Regions from separate parts of the Homo sapiens genome. Here region 2 is linked to region 1. Evidence: promoter capture Hi-C in 16 types of primary human blood cells and fetal thymus (Javierre and others, 2016). All regions are on one chromosome and are shown on one strand. Each heading gives the region's core, a stretch centred on a gene start or on the middle of the fragment in contact. The rest is flanking DNA. Distances are from core to core; before and after follow the strand shown.

Region 1 (7,540 bases), core at 2,128-4,627:
GGCAGGGAGGTATGTAAGCAGGCCGAGGGTGGAGTTCCAAACACGCAGGCGCAGTCCCCAGACATACTTCTTCATACCTCGCATGTACACAAAATGGCAGCGATTTTCTTTTAAGGGAGAGGAATCTAGTATTATAATGATATGTTAATGATCTAAAAGTAACTAGGGGTTGCCGGTTCTGGTTTGCACCGGTCTGGTGCAGGTCTTATCTTCCTCTGGTATTTGGCAAGGGATCATGAAGCTCCTGAAGCATCCTGGGCCATCTGGAGCTCTTTAAGCAGTGGCATCTATAGATAAAAAGGCTAAGGGGACATCCCATTACTGGGTATATACCCAAAGGACTATAAATCATGCTGCTATAAAGACACATGCACACATATGTTTATTGTGGCACTATTCACAATAGCAAAGACTTGGAACCAACCCAAGTGTCCAACAATGATAGACTGGATTAAGAAAATGTGGCACATATACACCATGGAATACTATGCAGCCATAAAAAATGATGAGTTCATGTCCTTTGTAGGCACATGGATGAAATTGGAAATCATCATTCTCAGTAAACTATTGCAAGGACAAAAAACCAAACACCGCATGTTCTCACTCATAGATGGGAATTGAACAATGAGAACACATGGACACAGGAAGGGGAACATCACACTCTGGGGACTGTTGTGGGGTGGGGGGATGGGGGAGGGATAGCATTAGGAGATATACCTAATGCTAAATGATGAGTTAACGGGTGCAGCACGCCAGCATGGCACATGTATACACATGTAACTAACCTGCACATTGTGCACATGTACCCTAAAACTTAAAGTATAATTAAAAAAAAAAGAAAAAAAAGGAACAGGGACAATCTTAAAAAAAAAAAAAAGGCTAAGGGAAAACAACAGTTTAAGAAAATAAGAAGCCCTCCCAGCTATTTCCGTAGGGCTCCCCTAGTAACAGAGCTTGTGAAGAAGAATCCATTTCCTTGCCTTTTCCAGCTTCTGGAGGCTGCCCACGTTGCATGGCTCATGGCCCCTGTCCACCTACAAAGCCAGCAATTGCATCATTCTGACTTCTGCCTCTAACATCACATTTGCTTTTCTGATTCTAACGCTCTTGCCTTCCTCTGCCACTAACAAGGACCTCTGTGATGACATTGAGCCCACCCAGATGATCCAAGCTAACCTTCCTCTCTTAAAGTCAGCTCATTAGCCACCTTAATTCCATGTGCATCTTTAATTCTTCCTGGCCATATAACCCACGTAACATGTTCACAAGTTCCAGGGATTAGGGCATGGGCATTTGGCGGTGTGTGGGCAGTGCCATTATTCTGCCTCCTACTCCTTCACACAGCATGCAAGGCTGTCCACCAAGTAGATGCCAACTGTCTTTCCAGCCTCATCTTCCACCATGTACCATGTATTGGATATATATTGCTGCATAACAAGTGACTTTAAAACTTAGGGGCCTAAGACAACATTTATTATCCCACAGTTTCTGTGGGTCAGGAGTCCAGGGAGGGTTTACATGGGTCCTCTGGCTTAGGAGGGTCTCTCCCAGGGCTGCAATCAAGATGTCAGCTGGGGCTGCCTTCATCTCAAAGCTCACTGGGGAAGGGTTCTTTTCTCCCTGAATATCGGCTGGAGGCTACTCTCAGGGGCCATATGTGGGCTTCTCCATAAGGCAGCTCACACTTAGCAGCTGCCTTCATGAGAGCAGGAAGGGCAAGAGAGAGAAGGCAAGCAAGAGGGAAATCGGTCTTTTGCAACCACATCCCATCACCTTTGCTGCATTATATTCATTATAATAGAATGTGGCCCCAGGCCAGCCCACACTCTAGGGAAGAGGACTACACAAGGCATGAATACCGGGAGGTGAAAACACAGGGCCATGTTAGAAGTTGTCCAGCACACCCCAGTATGTACCCTGTGCTCTCATCTCACAAAACTCACCCATGTTTCCCAAGGGGGAAAAAATGCTTTATTACCCATGTCTTACATTTGCTCATTAATTCACTCATTCAAAAAGTATTTTATTTCTACTGTGAGCTAGGTAGTGTTGTAAGGGCTAAGGATAGAGCAGTGAGCCAAAGAGACAAAGCCCCTCCCTCGTGGAGCAGACATTCTAGTAGGGAGATAAACAAACGATAAACAACCACACACTTAGTGCGACAGAGGGCAATGAGTTATAGCAGGCGAGGGGCATGAGGGGTGTCAGTGGAGGTGAGGATGTAGGATCTTATGTAGGGTGGCCTGGGAAGGCGTCTCTAAAAGCTTACCTCTGAGCAGAGACATGAAGGATGTGAGGAAGCCACCATGAGGCTATTTAAAAGAAGAGGGTCCTGGGCTGAGGGGGACATCATGTGCAAAGGTAGCTGATGTGTTCAAGGGGCACAAGAAGTTCTGTGTGATGGGAGCGGTGTGAGCAAAGGGGAAAACGCCTGGAGCTGAGGTCAGAAAGGAAACCAGGAGCCAGATCTTCTAAGGTCTTATAGGTCATGAAAAGGGCTTTGACTTTTATGCTAAGATGGGCGCCACTGGAGAATATCCCCTTAAAATGAGCTACTTTACATGCAGGAAAAAAACAAACAAAACTCCTTTCTTTATAATTTCAACATACCATTTTCAGTTCTCCCTTATAAAGAAGTATAATTTGCATTATAATGTAGCTACACATCTGAAATATGTATTCTTAATGGATCTCACATTTTCTAATTACTTACTTTAAAAGATAATATCTGAAAGCTTTGGGTGTTTGAGATGGCTTTTATCTCCAGATAAGGAAAGAGAAATCAAACAAAACCATTTCTGGGAAACCGAGGTCCATTTCTTGCCTAAAGTCAAACAACTTCAAAGAGTCTAGGCTAGAATCCAGGTCCAGGTAGACATCATTAATTTCACAAAGCCAGATGTCACCTGGCAGATCCCTGCCTGAGAGCCTAAAAGGACATGTTGTAAAGCAGGTGTCTAGGATCATAAAATGAGCTGATGCCTATGAATGGCCTAAATCCCAGTGAAGTAGTTACTAAAAAGCAGCCTGGTAACTGATTGGATACAATAAGGGCTAGAAGAGGTCTTGTTGATACTAGCACATTATCCAAACTTCCTGATGTCTGACCCAGGCCTTTGGTAAAGGACATTTTCTCAACATTGCCTTCACTGCATACCCAGCCCCAGGTTTCTCATATGACTGTGCAACCTAGAAGTCACCTTCAGACACCTTGGAGGGTCTATAGTCGGTAAACTTAGATAAGCAAATGAAAATTTACTTACTTGTATCAGGAAAGGAGAGGTCAGCACAGGGGCAGTTAGGAGAGGCTGGGTTGGGGACAGATTATTTAACAAAGGGAAGCACATATAAGAGAAGGTAAAGAAATATTCCACTTGCAAATCGCGGTACCTGTGGATGAGAGACATAGACGAGAGAGTGAGATGGCCTGGTTTGCCCTCTACCTCCTGAGCCTTCTCTGGGCTACAGCTGGGACTAGTACCCAGACCCAGAGTTCATGCTGTGAGTATGATGTTTTTCCAAGGAGGTCAGGGAAGCAGTTGCCCTGGGGAAGGGGCTGTGACCTCTGACACTGAGTGGTTGAAAATAGCAATCACTATAGGAATTCCAAAATGGGTAAGTCTGAGTGTGATTGTGTGCTGTTCATCCTTCCTGACTTAATAGCATAAGTTCTTTGAGAGACAAGTCTATATGTTTTTTATTAAGAGAGATGGGGCCAGGTGCAGTGGCTCACACCTGTAATCCCAGCACTTTGGGAGACTGAAGCAGGAGGATTGCTTGAGCCCAAGAGTTCAAGACCAGCCTGGGCAACATGGTGAGACTCCATCTCTACAAAAAAAATAAATAAATAAAAATAAAAAATTAGCTGGGCGCAGTGGCATGCACCTGTGGTCCCAGCTACTCAGAAAGCTGAGGTAGGAGAATCGCTTGAGCCCAGGAGGTCGAGGCTGCAGTGAGCTATAATCACACCACTGCACTCCAGCCTAGATGACACAGCAGCACCCTGTCTCAAAAAATCAATAAATAAAAATAATAGAGATGGAAGTACTACTGCAGGAATAATGGTTGATGGTACAAAGACAGACACTCAGTGGCTATTGTGACCAGACACCACTACATACTAGTGAGAGATTTTGGTACTCACTGAGGATAAATTATATCCCAAATCTTTAATACTCTTCATGAAAGAGTAAGGAAAAAAATGAATGCAAGGAAATCAGTGATTTCCAGGAAAGTGATAGAAACTATGAGAAATGTCATGAGCCATATTGCTTGAAGTTACTAAATTTAAAAATCACTTTCTTAAGGATATGGATTATTTGAGAAGATGTAGAAACTAATTGTCCTCAAAAGTAAAATCTCACCATTTTCTCCATTTCTCTTTAGTGACTTAGGACACTAATGCTAATCAAGTGTTCTCCTAAAAGGCATCAAAGATGGCCAGGCGAGGTGGCTCACGCCTGTAATCCCAGCACTTTGGGAGGCCAAGAAGGGTGGATTACCTGAGGTCAGAAATTCGAGACTACCCTGGCCAACATGGTGAAACCCCATCTCTACTAAAAATACAAAAATTAGCCTGGCGTGGTGGTGCACACCTGTAATCCCAGCTACTCAGGAAGCTGAGGCAGGAGAATCACTTGAACCTGGGAGGCAGAGTTTGCAGTGAGCCGAGATCGTGCCATTGCACTCTAGCCTGGGCAACAAGAGTAACACTGTCTCAAAAAAAAAAGAAAGAAAGAAAAAGCATCAAAGACACGGGGATAATGTTTTTGAGAAGGAATGAGGGTTAGAAGGTGAGTAAATGGCTTTCCTCTTCTCAGCCGTTCCCTCAGCACAGGAGCCCTTGGTCAATGGAATACAAGTACTCATGGAGAACTCGGTGACTTCATCAGCCTACCCAAACCCCAGCATCCTGATTGCCATGAATCTGGCCGGAGCCTACAACTTGAAGGCCCAGAAGCTCCTGACTTACCAGCTCATGTCCAGCGACAACAACGGTGAGACATCTGAGCCGCTCGCACTCTCCCTGAATCTCACACATCACATACCACCTCCAGATTCCAACTCAGCGTCCTTCCCACCCCAATGCTGCCTCTGACTGTAAATAAACTACCCAAACACCTTTCCTTACATACCTGGAAGGTACCTGGAAAGAAACATGTGTGAAGTCAGAGCATTCATGGAGGAGGTCAGTAAAGCAGGGAGAGCTCTGGACTAGACGTCGAAAGAGCAGCCTTCTGGTTCTGGCTCTGCCACGTCATAACTCTGGGATCTGAGACAAGTCACTGGATACTGCTCAGCCTCACCTTGCAGATGATTGTAGTAACAATAACCCTACTACTACTAATAGCAATGATAATAATAATAAAATCTCTGTTCTGCCTATCTCCCAGGAGCTGCCTGCAGGCTCAAGTTAGATAAAGTTTAAATTATTTTGCAACTGTAAATTTCTGTATATAAATCTATATGAGTATTTTGCTGCTTTTCTAATCAAATACCAGGGATTCTCAAATACCAAATACTAGAGTCATCAAGTTACACAGAGGCCACTAGATTAAATATTCCCTTACGTATTCTTCCATATTTTTTTCTTTGGAAAGACAGATCAAAGAACTGCTCATATTATTAAAAAGTCAAAATGCTCTAGATAAAAAGCAGAGAACTCATCACTGGCTCCTGGAGAGCTGTCCCCTGAGGATGTCTCTGTCTAACCGTTGTGTTCTCTTCTCTGCAGATCTAACCATTGGGCAGCTCGGCCTCACCATCATGGCCCTCACCTCCTCCTGCCGAGACCCTGGGGATAAAGTATCCATTCTACAAAGACAAATGGAGAACTGGGCACCTTCCAGTAAGACCTGACTGGAAGGGAGAAAAGAGTCAGGCATATGGTTTTACCTAAGAATTTTAAACCCAGAAAGGAAAAGGGTGGGGGTGGAGAGAAAGGCAAGTTAGGGAAGAGACAATGTATCCTTCACTCTGGTCCTTCTGATAATCCAGACCAGAAAGATTCATTTCCAATCCAAAATGAACTAGAAAAGGTCATGATCCCAAGGACACAAGCTTGTCCAGCCATCACCTGTCTAAAGACACAGAGTCATCCCTTTTATTCTTTGCAGATGCCTGATGACATTCTTTTGAAAAACACTGAAGTTGCTCTTTGCCTATGCTGTGTCTCTCTTTGGGGGCAGGTTTTCTAGCAATTTCCTTTTCAAAGGCTTGGCTTTTCCTTCTTTGCAAATGTCCTCATCGTGGTGACTGTGAGTCTGATGAAGGTTCTCTATCCCCTTCGGAGGCCCCAACGCTGAAGCATCAGCCTTCTATGGGCCCAGTCTAGCGATCTTGGCACTGTGCCAGAAGAACTCTGAGGCGACCTTGCCGATAGCCGTCCGCTTTGCCAAGACCCTGCTGGCCAACTCCTCTCCCTTCAATGTAGGTGAGTAGGTCACCACTACCCCGAGCTGGGAACATCAGAGGCATCGTGAACTGAATGGTGGAGCTGGCAGGGAAGTGACAAAGGAGAGCGTCCCATGGAGGAGGAGCTAAGGATGTGAACGTGCCTGTGGATGGGAGATATTTACCAGATGTTTGTTGGGCAGGTGAATTGAGGAGTAAGTGAAGGAAGAGGGGGTAGTATTATGTAGAAACAAGGACAATTGATAATACTTGATATGTCTGGCAGCTACAGAATCTCCGCTGGGAACAATAGTAATGCCATTCAAGTCAGAAGTTCTTCCCAAATTAAATATGAATGTCTTGCTTCAGTTCTCCTCTGCATCCTCTCTTTAATCACTACTGATGCTCCCACACTCCATTCTTTTCGATGCTTCTCCTCATTACATCCAAATATCCTCTCTCCATTAAACAGCTACTCTCGGAACCCTAACTCGTGATATTTCCCTTCATGGCAACTCGGGGACCACCTTGCGTCTTTGTTCTGCAAGCATATGGCTGCTTGTGAATAGAAGCTTTTCCCTCTACAACATCATGTCCTCCTTCTGTCCCCTTCTATGGATAATGATCCTTCTCTGTGGGGGCCACTGTCACAGCCCGCATTCATGATCACCTTTTCTCCTCTGCCAACTCTCTAAGCAATAGTATTATCTCAGGTTTTCACTCCCTTATGCATGCCCCATCAGCAACCTCTCTTGTTTCAGTTTCTGTCAGACAAACAGGTGAACCACTGCTCTAGGATCCTCCCTGGGGGTTAAGAACAGACTGGTCTCCCTTTCACATCTGGGACCTCACACATTTCTGGGGCATCTCTGCCTCCAAAAATTTGGACTTATTTACTTCTGGTTGTCAGTAACACTAGCACCCTTAACGAAGTTATGCAACTTTCAAATGGAGATTTGGCCCTGCTGCTTACTTAATTTTTCTGAGCCTCCATTTTTTGTCTCTTAAATGGAGATGATTACAGGTACTGTTTCACAGGTTGTTCTGAGGAGCAAATAAAATCATGGAGCCAGAATATAATAAGCACACAATAAATGTTAGCTGTTCATATTGCTGTGATGGTGACTATGGTGATCTTATACCCTCT
Region 2 (7,540 bases), core at 1,978-4,477, 260 kb before region 1:
TCCCAAAATATATTTCTTTAACATATTTTACATATTTTGACATGGCCCTATAAAGCTGTCTCTTGTGGAGAAAAATCTACATTCTGTAGAGAATCCCCTTCCCTTTCCCAGTCTTTTTCCTCGTTCAGGAGAGAATTAACTAAGAGTGTGGCACCTTTTAAAGTCTGATAAACTTTTACAGTCTATTCTCTCTGAAGCATGCTACCTGGAGGCTTCATCTGCATAAGCATCTTGATCTCCACAACCCCTTATCTTAACCCAGACACTCCCTTCTATTGATTCCAAGTCTTTAGGTAATAAACTCTTTCAACCAAATTGCCAATCAGAAAATCTTTGAATTCTCTCCTTCAAGTGTTCCCACCTTTTTGGTCTGAATCAACGTACATGTTACATGTATTGCCTGATGTCATATGCCTCCCCAAAAGATATAAAACCAAGCTGTATCCCAATCACCTTGGGCACATGTTCTCAAGACCCCCTGGGAGGCTGTGTCATGGATCATTGGTTCTCATACTTGGCTCAGAACAAATTTAAAATATTTTGCAGTTGACAAGATATCTTTTCATTGACAAGACCTTGCACTCTCACTTCTTCTAGAGCAGCCCTCTTGATGGAAAAACCTTACAAGCCAAGATAAGCCATGCTCCGACCCTGTCCCATACATTTCATGCAAGGTCCTCTGATTGGAGGACCTTTGAAAAGCTAAAACAAATGGCCTTCCAAAATAGATTTCACTCAAAGAAGTTAACCCTATCACCCTCATGTGCACAACACCAGAAGGATGACTGGTCTTTACCTTTGCCTCATTATAATACTAAAATCCCTACCCAGGGAGAGCCTTATTTGCCATTTTCTAATCATGTCATGTATGTGTTAGCATTACTCCTTACTAGATTCATGCACCCTGCACTGCATCCCACACATGTGGTGATACTCACCTATCTCATGAATTATGCATGTCACTCTCCTTAACCCGCTTATGCCTGAGGTTGCAATTTTTTGAATTTTTGCAATCAGACCTTGGTGATGACCTTGAGCAATAGGATACGAAAAACTCCCACACTCTTAGCATTCCAATAATGGAGCATGAGGCATAAATGTATTAAGGCACCACAATGCACAGCCTTTAGGGAGACAGCATGAAACCTTTAACTCCAGTGCTGGCTCCCTTTTGTTCCAACACAAGCCCTTAATAAAGGCCTTGACTGGGAAACTTGTTGGGCCTCATGCCACTTTCTATTACATGAGAGTCTAAGAACCTGTGATTGGTAACAATAGGACAATTGAAGTCGATTCACCAGGGAAAGGCAAGAACACTGTGTAAGTCTCCTTCAAGGCAGGATTTATAGTAACAGTAGATAAAGTAGAAATCTTAGAGGCATTCCCAGAACAGGGGTCAATCAGAAGTCAACATGCAACCAAGCAGCCTAGCAGCCCAACAACATAGGCTCAAGCTGCATTTTAAATGTTTTTTCTTTTCTTTCCTCTTTCCCATCCCAGTCTGAAGATATAACTTTGAGACAAACTGCATATGTGTTACCTCTCATCTTTAAATCCAGGCTCAAAATGTGCTGTGAACCTCCACTCCCTTTCATTTCCCATACTATGCTCCCATGCCTTATGCATATTTATTTACCTACATGCTTGTTAAGCACACACCATGCTCTCTTATCCGGTCCTGCCTTTCCTTGGAAGCTTCATGGGTCAGATCCTTATAGGCACCAGGCACTTCCAGAATTTTCTCCAGTAAAAGATTACTTCAAGGATGGAATCCACTCCAGGTGACTATAAGACGTACTGCAACTAATTTATAACCTGGCAGGATCCACGATGGTGCCAACCCCTTCACCAAATGAGACAAAATAATTCAAGATGAGACATCGGAGCAAGTCATGCCACCTGGCACCTCTTAGCCCCTTCTCTCTTCTGTATTCCAAACCCTTCCTTTAAAAAACCCTGCTTACCCTCCACAAATCGAAGAGTTGAATTGCTCTGTACTCTTCCCCTTACCTAGCACGGATAATAAAGGAATATCCTTCTTTCTTATCATAATGCATTATTATTTTAACGTCATTCCTTAAGAAAGAAGTTCAGTGAGCAGCCAGACCCTTTTTGCTGGTTACAAACATGGTGAATTAGCAGCCAAGGAGTTGCTTTATCCCCCTCAACAGGCTCACTCTTTTGGCAATTCTGATTTAATATGTTTGTTTTAGACATTGTGGTCAGACAAGTTTGGAAAACACTGCCATAACAGAGTCCTATATTTCTCCACACACATATCTTCAGGTACACCTTTCCCAACCACTGCCCCTCCTTCCCCCATGAATGTGGAACCCAAGCCTGCTCTGTCCTCCTCAAAGTCTCTACAGATACAATGGCATGCATTTATTTTTTATTTTTATTTTATTTATTTATTTATTTTGAGATGGAGTTTCACTCTTGTTGCCCAGGGTGGAGTGCAATGGCGTGATCGGCTCACTGGGTTCAAGCGGTTCGCCTGCCTCAGCCTCCCAAGTAGCTGGGATTACAGGCATGCTCCATCAAGCCCAGCTAATTTTGTATTTTTAGTAGAGATGGGGTTTCACCATGTTGGTCAGGCTGGTCTTGAACTCCCAACCTTAGGTCATCTGCCCTCCTCGGCCTCCCAAAATGCTGGGATTACAGGAGTGAGCCACCATGCCTGGCCATGCATTTATTTTCAATCTTGTCAATTAGTATGGTCAATCTTTTTTCGTTATTCTCCCTTTAGATTTATCTGAAGAGGAGAGAGATACCTGTGGGTCTGAGGCTCATGTATCACCTGGGATTTTAAATTCTCCTTGAGAAATTGCTGCATTTTGCTTTGAGGAGACAACATAATTCCAAATGTCTTGGTTATCCTTAACTGGGAATTTTGGTGTTTCTCAGACTGCTAATTTTCATCCTATTTATATTAGTTTGCTACGACTGCGATAACAAAGTACCACAGACTGGGTGGCTTAAACAATAAAAATTTATTTTTTCATAGTTCTGGAGGCTATAGCAAGCCTAAAATCAAGGCTTTAGCAGGGTTGGTTTCTTCTGAGGACTGTAAGGGAAGGATCTGTTCCAGGCCTCTCTTATTGGCTTATAAATGGCTGTTTTCTTTTTGTCTTCACATAGTCTTCCTTCTGTACATGTCTGTGTCCTGAACTCCTCTTCTTATAAGAATATTACTCATATTGAGTTAGGGTCCACCCTGAATATCTCATTTCAATTTAACTACTCTTTAAAGAACCTGTCTCCAAATATGTCACATTCTGAGGTCCTGGCGCTTAGGACTTCAACATATAAACTTTGAGGGGAACACAATTCAGGCCATAACACCTCTGGAAGCAAGAGTCTTTATTCTGTAATAAAACCTAAGATAATCAAGTGTGATACTCCATATTCAGAGTATCATCCTCCCTTCAGAGAGGAATTCTAAAAGAAGTAGACATCTTCCTAAAGCTACAAACTCTAATAGAAGATGAGCCCAAGATATCAGGTGATACCAGAGACCTGGAAATAGGTGATTTCCAGGGTCTGGAGTGTGAGGTGTAAAGAAGTTATTTCTTGTGTCTAGGTTTAAAAAAAAAATGGTTATGTAGAGATAGCTACATAGAACTGCACCACCAATTAATGCTCCATGTTTTCTATCTCAAGAACAAATACGTAATCATTTGGAAGATAGTATTCATTAATTTCACACCTCCCATGGCTAAGACAGACAGTTTAAGCCAAGTAGGAAGAGCACAGATACTAAAGTCAAGCCAGGCTGGGTTTAAATCCCAGGTCTATATTCTCGTGGCTAAGTGGCCTTGGGCAAATTGTTCTTATTTTTGTTATGTAAAGACGCTTACAGCTTTAAAAAAGGGTATTGCTTACCTCAAGAGTTTGTTTCATGGATTAAAATGAAGTAACACAAGTTAGGCTTTCAGCAGAAGGCTGGAGACATAATGGAAATTCAAGTAAGTTTGGCTTTATTCACTTTCTTTCTTTTTTTCGGGGGGTGGAGGGACGGAGTCTCACTCTGTCACTCAGGCTGGAGTGCAATGGCACCATCTCAGCTCACTGCAACCTCTGCCTCCCAGGTTCAAGTGATTCTCCTGCCTCAGCCTCCCAAGCAGCTGGGACTACAGGCACATGACACCACACCTGGCTAATTTTTGTATTTTTAGTAGAGGCAGGGTTTCACTATGTTGGCCAGGCTGGTCTTGAACTCCTGAGCTCGTGATCTGCCTAAAGGAGGAGACCAACCCTCATATTGTCTTATGCCCAATTTCTGCCTCCAGAGAAAAAAGAAGTAAAAACTAAAAGGCAGAAATGAAATTCACAAGCAGACAGCCCGGCGCCACACCCTAGGCCTGGTAGTTAAAACTGACCCTTGACCTAATCAGTTATCTATAGATTACAGACATTGTATAAAAAAGCACTGTGCAAATCCCTATCCTGTTTTGTTCTGATCTAATTACCAGTGCATGCAGCCCCCAGTCACATACCCCATGCTTGCTCAATCAATCACAACCCTCTCACTGCGCACCCCCTTAGAGTTGTGAGCCCTTAAAAGGCGCAGGAATTGCTCACTCAGGGAGCTCGGCTCTTGAGACGGGAGTCTTGCCAAAGCCCCTGGCTGAATAAACCCCTTCCTTTTTTAACTGGGTGTCTGAGGACTTTTGTCTGAGGCTTGTCCTGCTACATTTCTTGGTTCCCTGACCAGGAAGCGAGGTGATTGGTGGATGGTCCAGGCAGCTCAAGCTTGCCCTGTGGAACATCCCTGTGGGGGACTCCAACCAGCCCGAGCTACGTGGATCCTGAGAGTACCCTTGGGTAGGCATCTGCCCCGGTGGGACGCCTCGTCAGAGCAATGTGTGGCAGGTCCCCGTGGAGGATCAATGCAGTGGCTGAACACCGGGAAGGAACGGGCACTTGGAGTCTGGACATCTAAAACTTTGTAAGACTAATCTTTGAAACTTGCCCACTCCACTTGAGTAGAAGCGTGATCTGATCACCCATGGCATGCCTTTATTGGCACTTTGGTTTTGGTTTGAATTGCTTGACAGGACCAGTCTTAGGATCTTGCCCACTCCATTTGAGTAGAAGCGTGGCCTGATCACCCACGTTGTGCCTTTATCAGCACTTTGGTTTTAGTTTTGACTTGGTTTGAATTGCTTGACAGGACTGGTCTTAGGAACTTGCCCACTCCATTTGAGTAGAAGCATGGCCTGATCACCCGTGGTGTGCTTGTACTGGCACTTCAGTTTCTGTTTTTGACTTGACTTGGATTGCTTGATACTTTGGTTTTAGTTTTGACCTGGCTTGGATTTCTGGATACTCTAATTTTAGTTTTGATTTTGGTTTAGTGCAAACTGCAAAAGTGTGTGTATGCCCTTTTTACCCGTTCTTTGTTTTGTGGTGTGCATGTGGTGTGAGCGCAGTGTTTTGTCTGGAAGAAGCATAGTTCAGGCACAAATAAGACCACCCTACTAGGAACTATGTTGAAAACTTTCAAAAAGGATTTTAAAGGAGACTATAGAGTACTATGACACTAGGAAAACTTGAAACTTTGTGTGAGATAGACTGGCCAGCAGTAGAGGTAGGTGGGCCATTAGAAAGAAGCCTGGACAGGTCCCTTATTTCAAAGGTATGGCACAAGGAAACCAGACCAGTTCCCGTACAGAGACACTTAGTTACAGCTAGTTTTAGACCCCCTGCCCCTCAACACACAGTGGTTGAGAAAACAGCAGCATAAGCGGCTGGCAGAGGCAAGGAAAGACCAGCAGAGAGAGAGAAAGGAAAGAGACAGAGAGGAAAAGAGGCAAAGAGAGAGAGGAATAGACAGAAAAAGAAGGAGTCAAGGAGACAGAGAAAAAGAGAGGCAGAGAAAAAGAAGAGACAGAGGCAAAAGGAAAGTCAAAGAGAAAGAGACAAAGTCAAAGAGAAAAAAAAAGAAAGAGATATACAAGTAGTTAAGAAAAAAAAGTGTACCCTATTCCTTTAAAAGACAAGGTAAATTTAAAACCTATAATTGATCATTGAAGGTATTCTCTGTAACCCTATAACACTCCAATACCACCTTGTTGTCACTGTAAACAAGGACATATCCCAAAAGCACTGAGTCCTTCCTATCAAAAATCCTTAACTCAGTAACCCGCAGATGGCCCAAATGCATTCAGTCTGTAGTGGCAACTGCTTTGCTAACAACAACAACAAAAAAAAGGTTAAAAAAAAAAAAAACTTTTAGAGAAAACTTCATTGTGAGCACACCTCACCAGTTCAGAAGTATCCTAAGGAAAAAAAAAAAAGGAGAAAAAAGGAAGGGTGAAATTTATATAAAAAGAGTATTATATGGTAAATTCTTGTCCTGAAATAAATTAACTGGTTGTTTAAAGAAAAAAATATTTGTAATAAGTGAGAAAGTTGAGGCATGTCAAAGAATTGTCTGTGGAAAGTCATGGAAGAGAAAAATGTTATAAAAAACATTTATGCAAAAAATATTGTATAATTTAAAAGTAACTAGGCCTCCTAAATGTAAAACTATTGAAAAAAAAAAACAGTTTATGTGCAAGGTGTATAAGAAAAGTAAATGTACATTTTTACCTACATTAAAAAGTTAAAAAAATTATTGAAGGTTTAAGCAAGTTTTAAAACGTTAAATGTAAAGAAAATTCTGTGTGTAACCATATTAGCTAAAATTAAAGAAGTATCATCCAGTTTTTCTGTCAACTGGACATTAAAGTAAAAGCCTAACAGGTTTTTCTTAAAGCACCAACCTGCTCTTTAGCAAAAATTATAAAAGATTAAAAAGAGTCTATAAAATCTTACCTTTTGGTCAAACATTAAAAATTAGATAAAGATGTCTACAAAGTTTTATTAAAATTAGGTTTAACATTAATAACACCCTAATATAAAGATAAAATTTAGCTTATCTGGTATAAAAATCATACAAGAAGCATTGTTAAAGTAAAATGGTATTTGGCTTTCTTTGGTTTAAAAATTAATAAAAATAGGTGCTAAAAGAAATTTCTCAGTAAAAAGGCACTAAGGACTATAAAGTCCACTGCCAAGGTCCCCACATTTAAAACAAAAGATCAATTTCTTAAAAATTATATACTTGGTTTATCTTCCACTTTCCTTTCTCTCAAAATCTAAAAGTCTTTTAGCACATGTACCACCCCTAGAATTTCCGGTAAACCAGCACCAGCCTGGAGTTCACATTCTCATCAAAAGGTGGAAAGAAAAAAAACTCGAGCCAGCCTGGGAAGGACCTTACCTTGTGCTGCTAACCACCAAGACTGCTGTTCACACAGCAAAAAAAAAAAAAAAAAAAAAGGATGGACTCATCACACCCAAGTCAAGAAAGCCCCATCCCCTCCAGAGTCGTAGTTCATAATCCCAGGGGAAAATCCTACCAAACTAAAGCTAAGAAAAATTTAACTCTTTTCATCTATTCTATTACTCTTTCTTCTTTCCGCATTCTATTGCTGACCATCTAGTTATTAACATAACCAAGTCAATTTCATCTCAAACTATTGCATTTAAT

Evidence for each region. The method cuts DNA at HindIII sites, captures the fragments that hold promoters and counts their contacts. A CHiCAGO score of 5 or more calls a contact.
Region 2: a fragment that was not itself captured here is called in contact with the fragment with the promoter of CBLIF in region 1 in 1 of 17 cell types (erythroblasts); the score reaches 5.3 in erythroblasts.

Annotation. Positions count from the first base shown.
Region 1 is chr11:59,841,336-59,848,875 of GRCh38, reverse strand. It overlaps CBLIF (cobalamin binding intrinsic factor), which reads left to right and starts at 3,377. Exons shown (of 9, transcript NM_005142.3): 1 at 3,377-3,501; 2 at 4,821-4,997; 3 at 5,735-5,848; 4 at 6,293-6,433. The coding sequence starts at 3,423. The HindIII fragment of the contact is 3,325 bases long and covers 2,738-6,062 here.
Region 2 is chr11:60,105,673-60,113,212 of GRCh38, reverse strand. No RefSeq gene overlaps it. Among named protein-coding and RNA genes, the nearest start is that of MS4A2, 21 kb to the right of the region's middle. The HindIII fragment of the contact is 3,060 bases long and covers 1,698-4,757 here.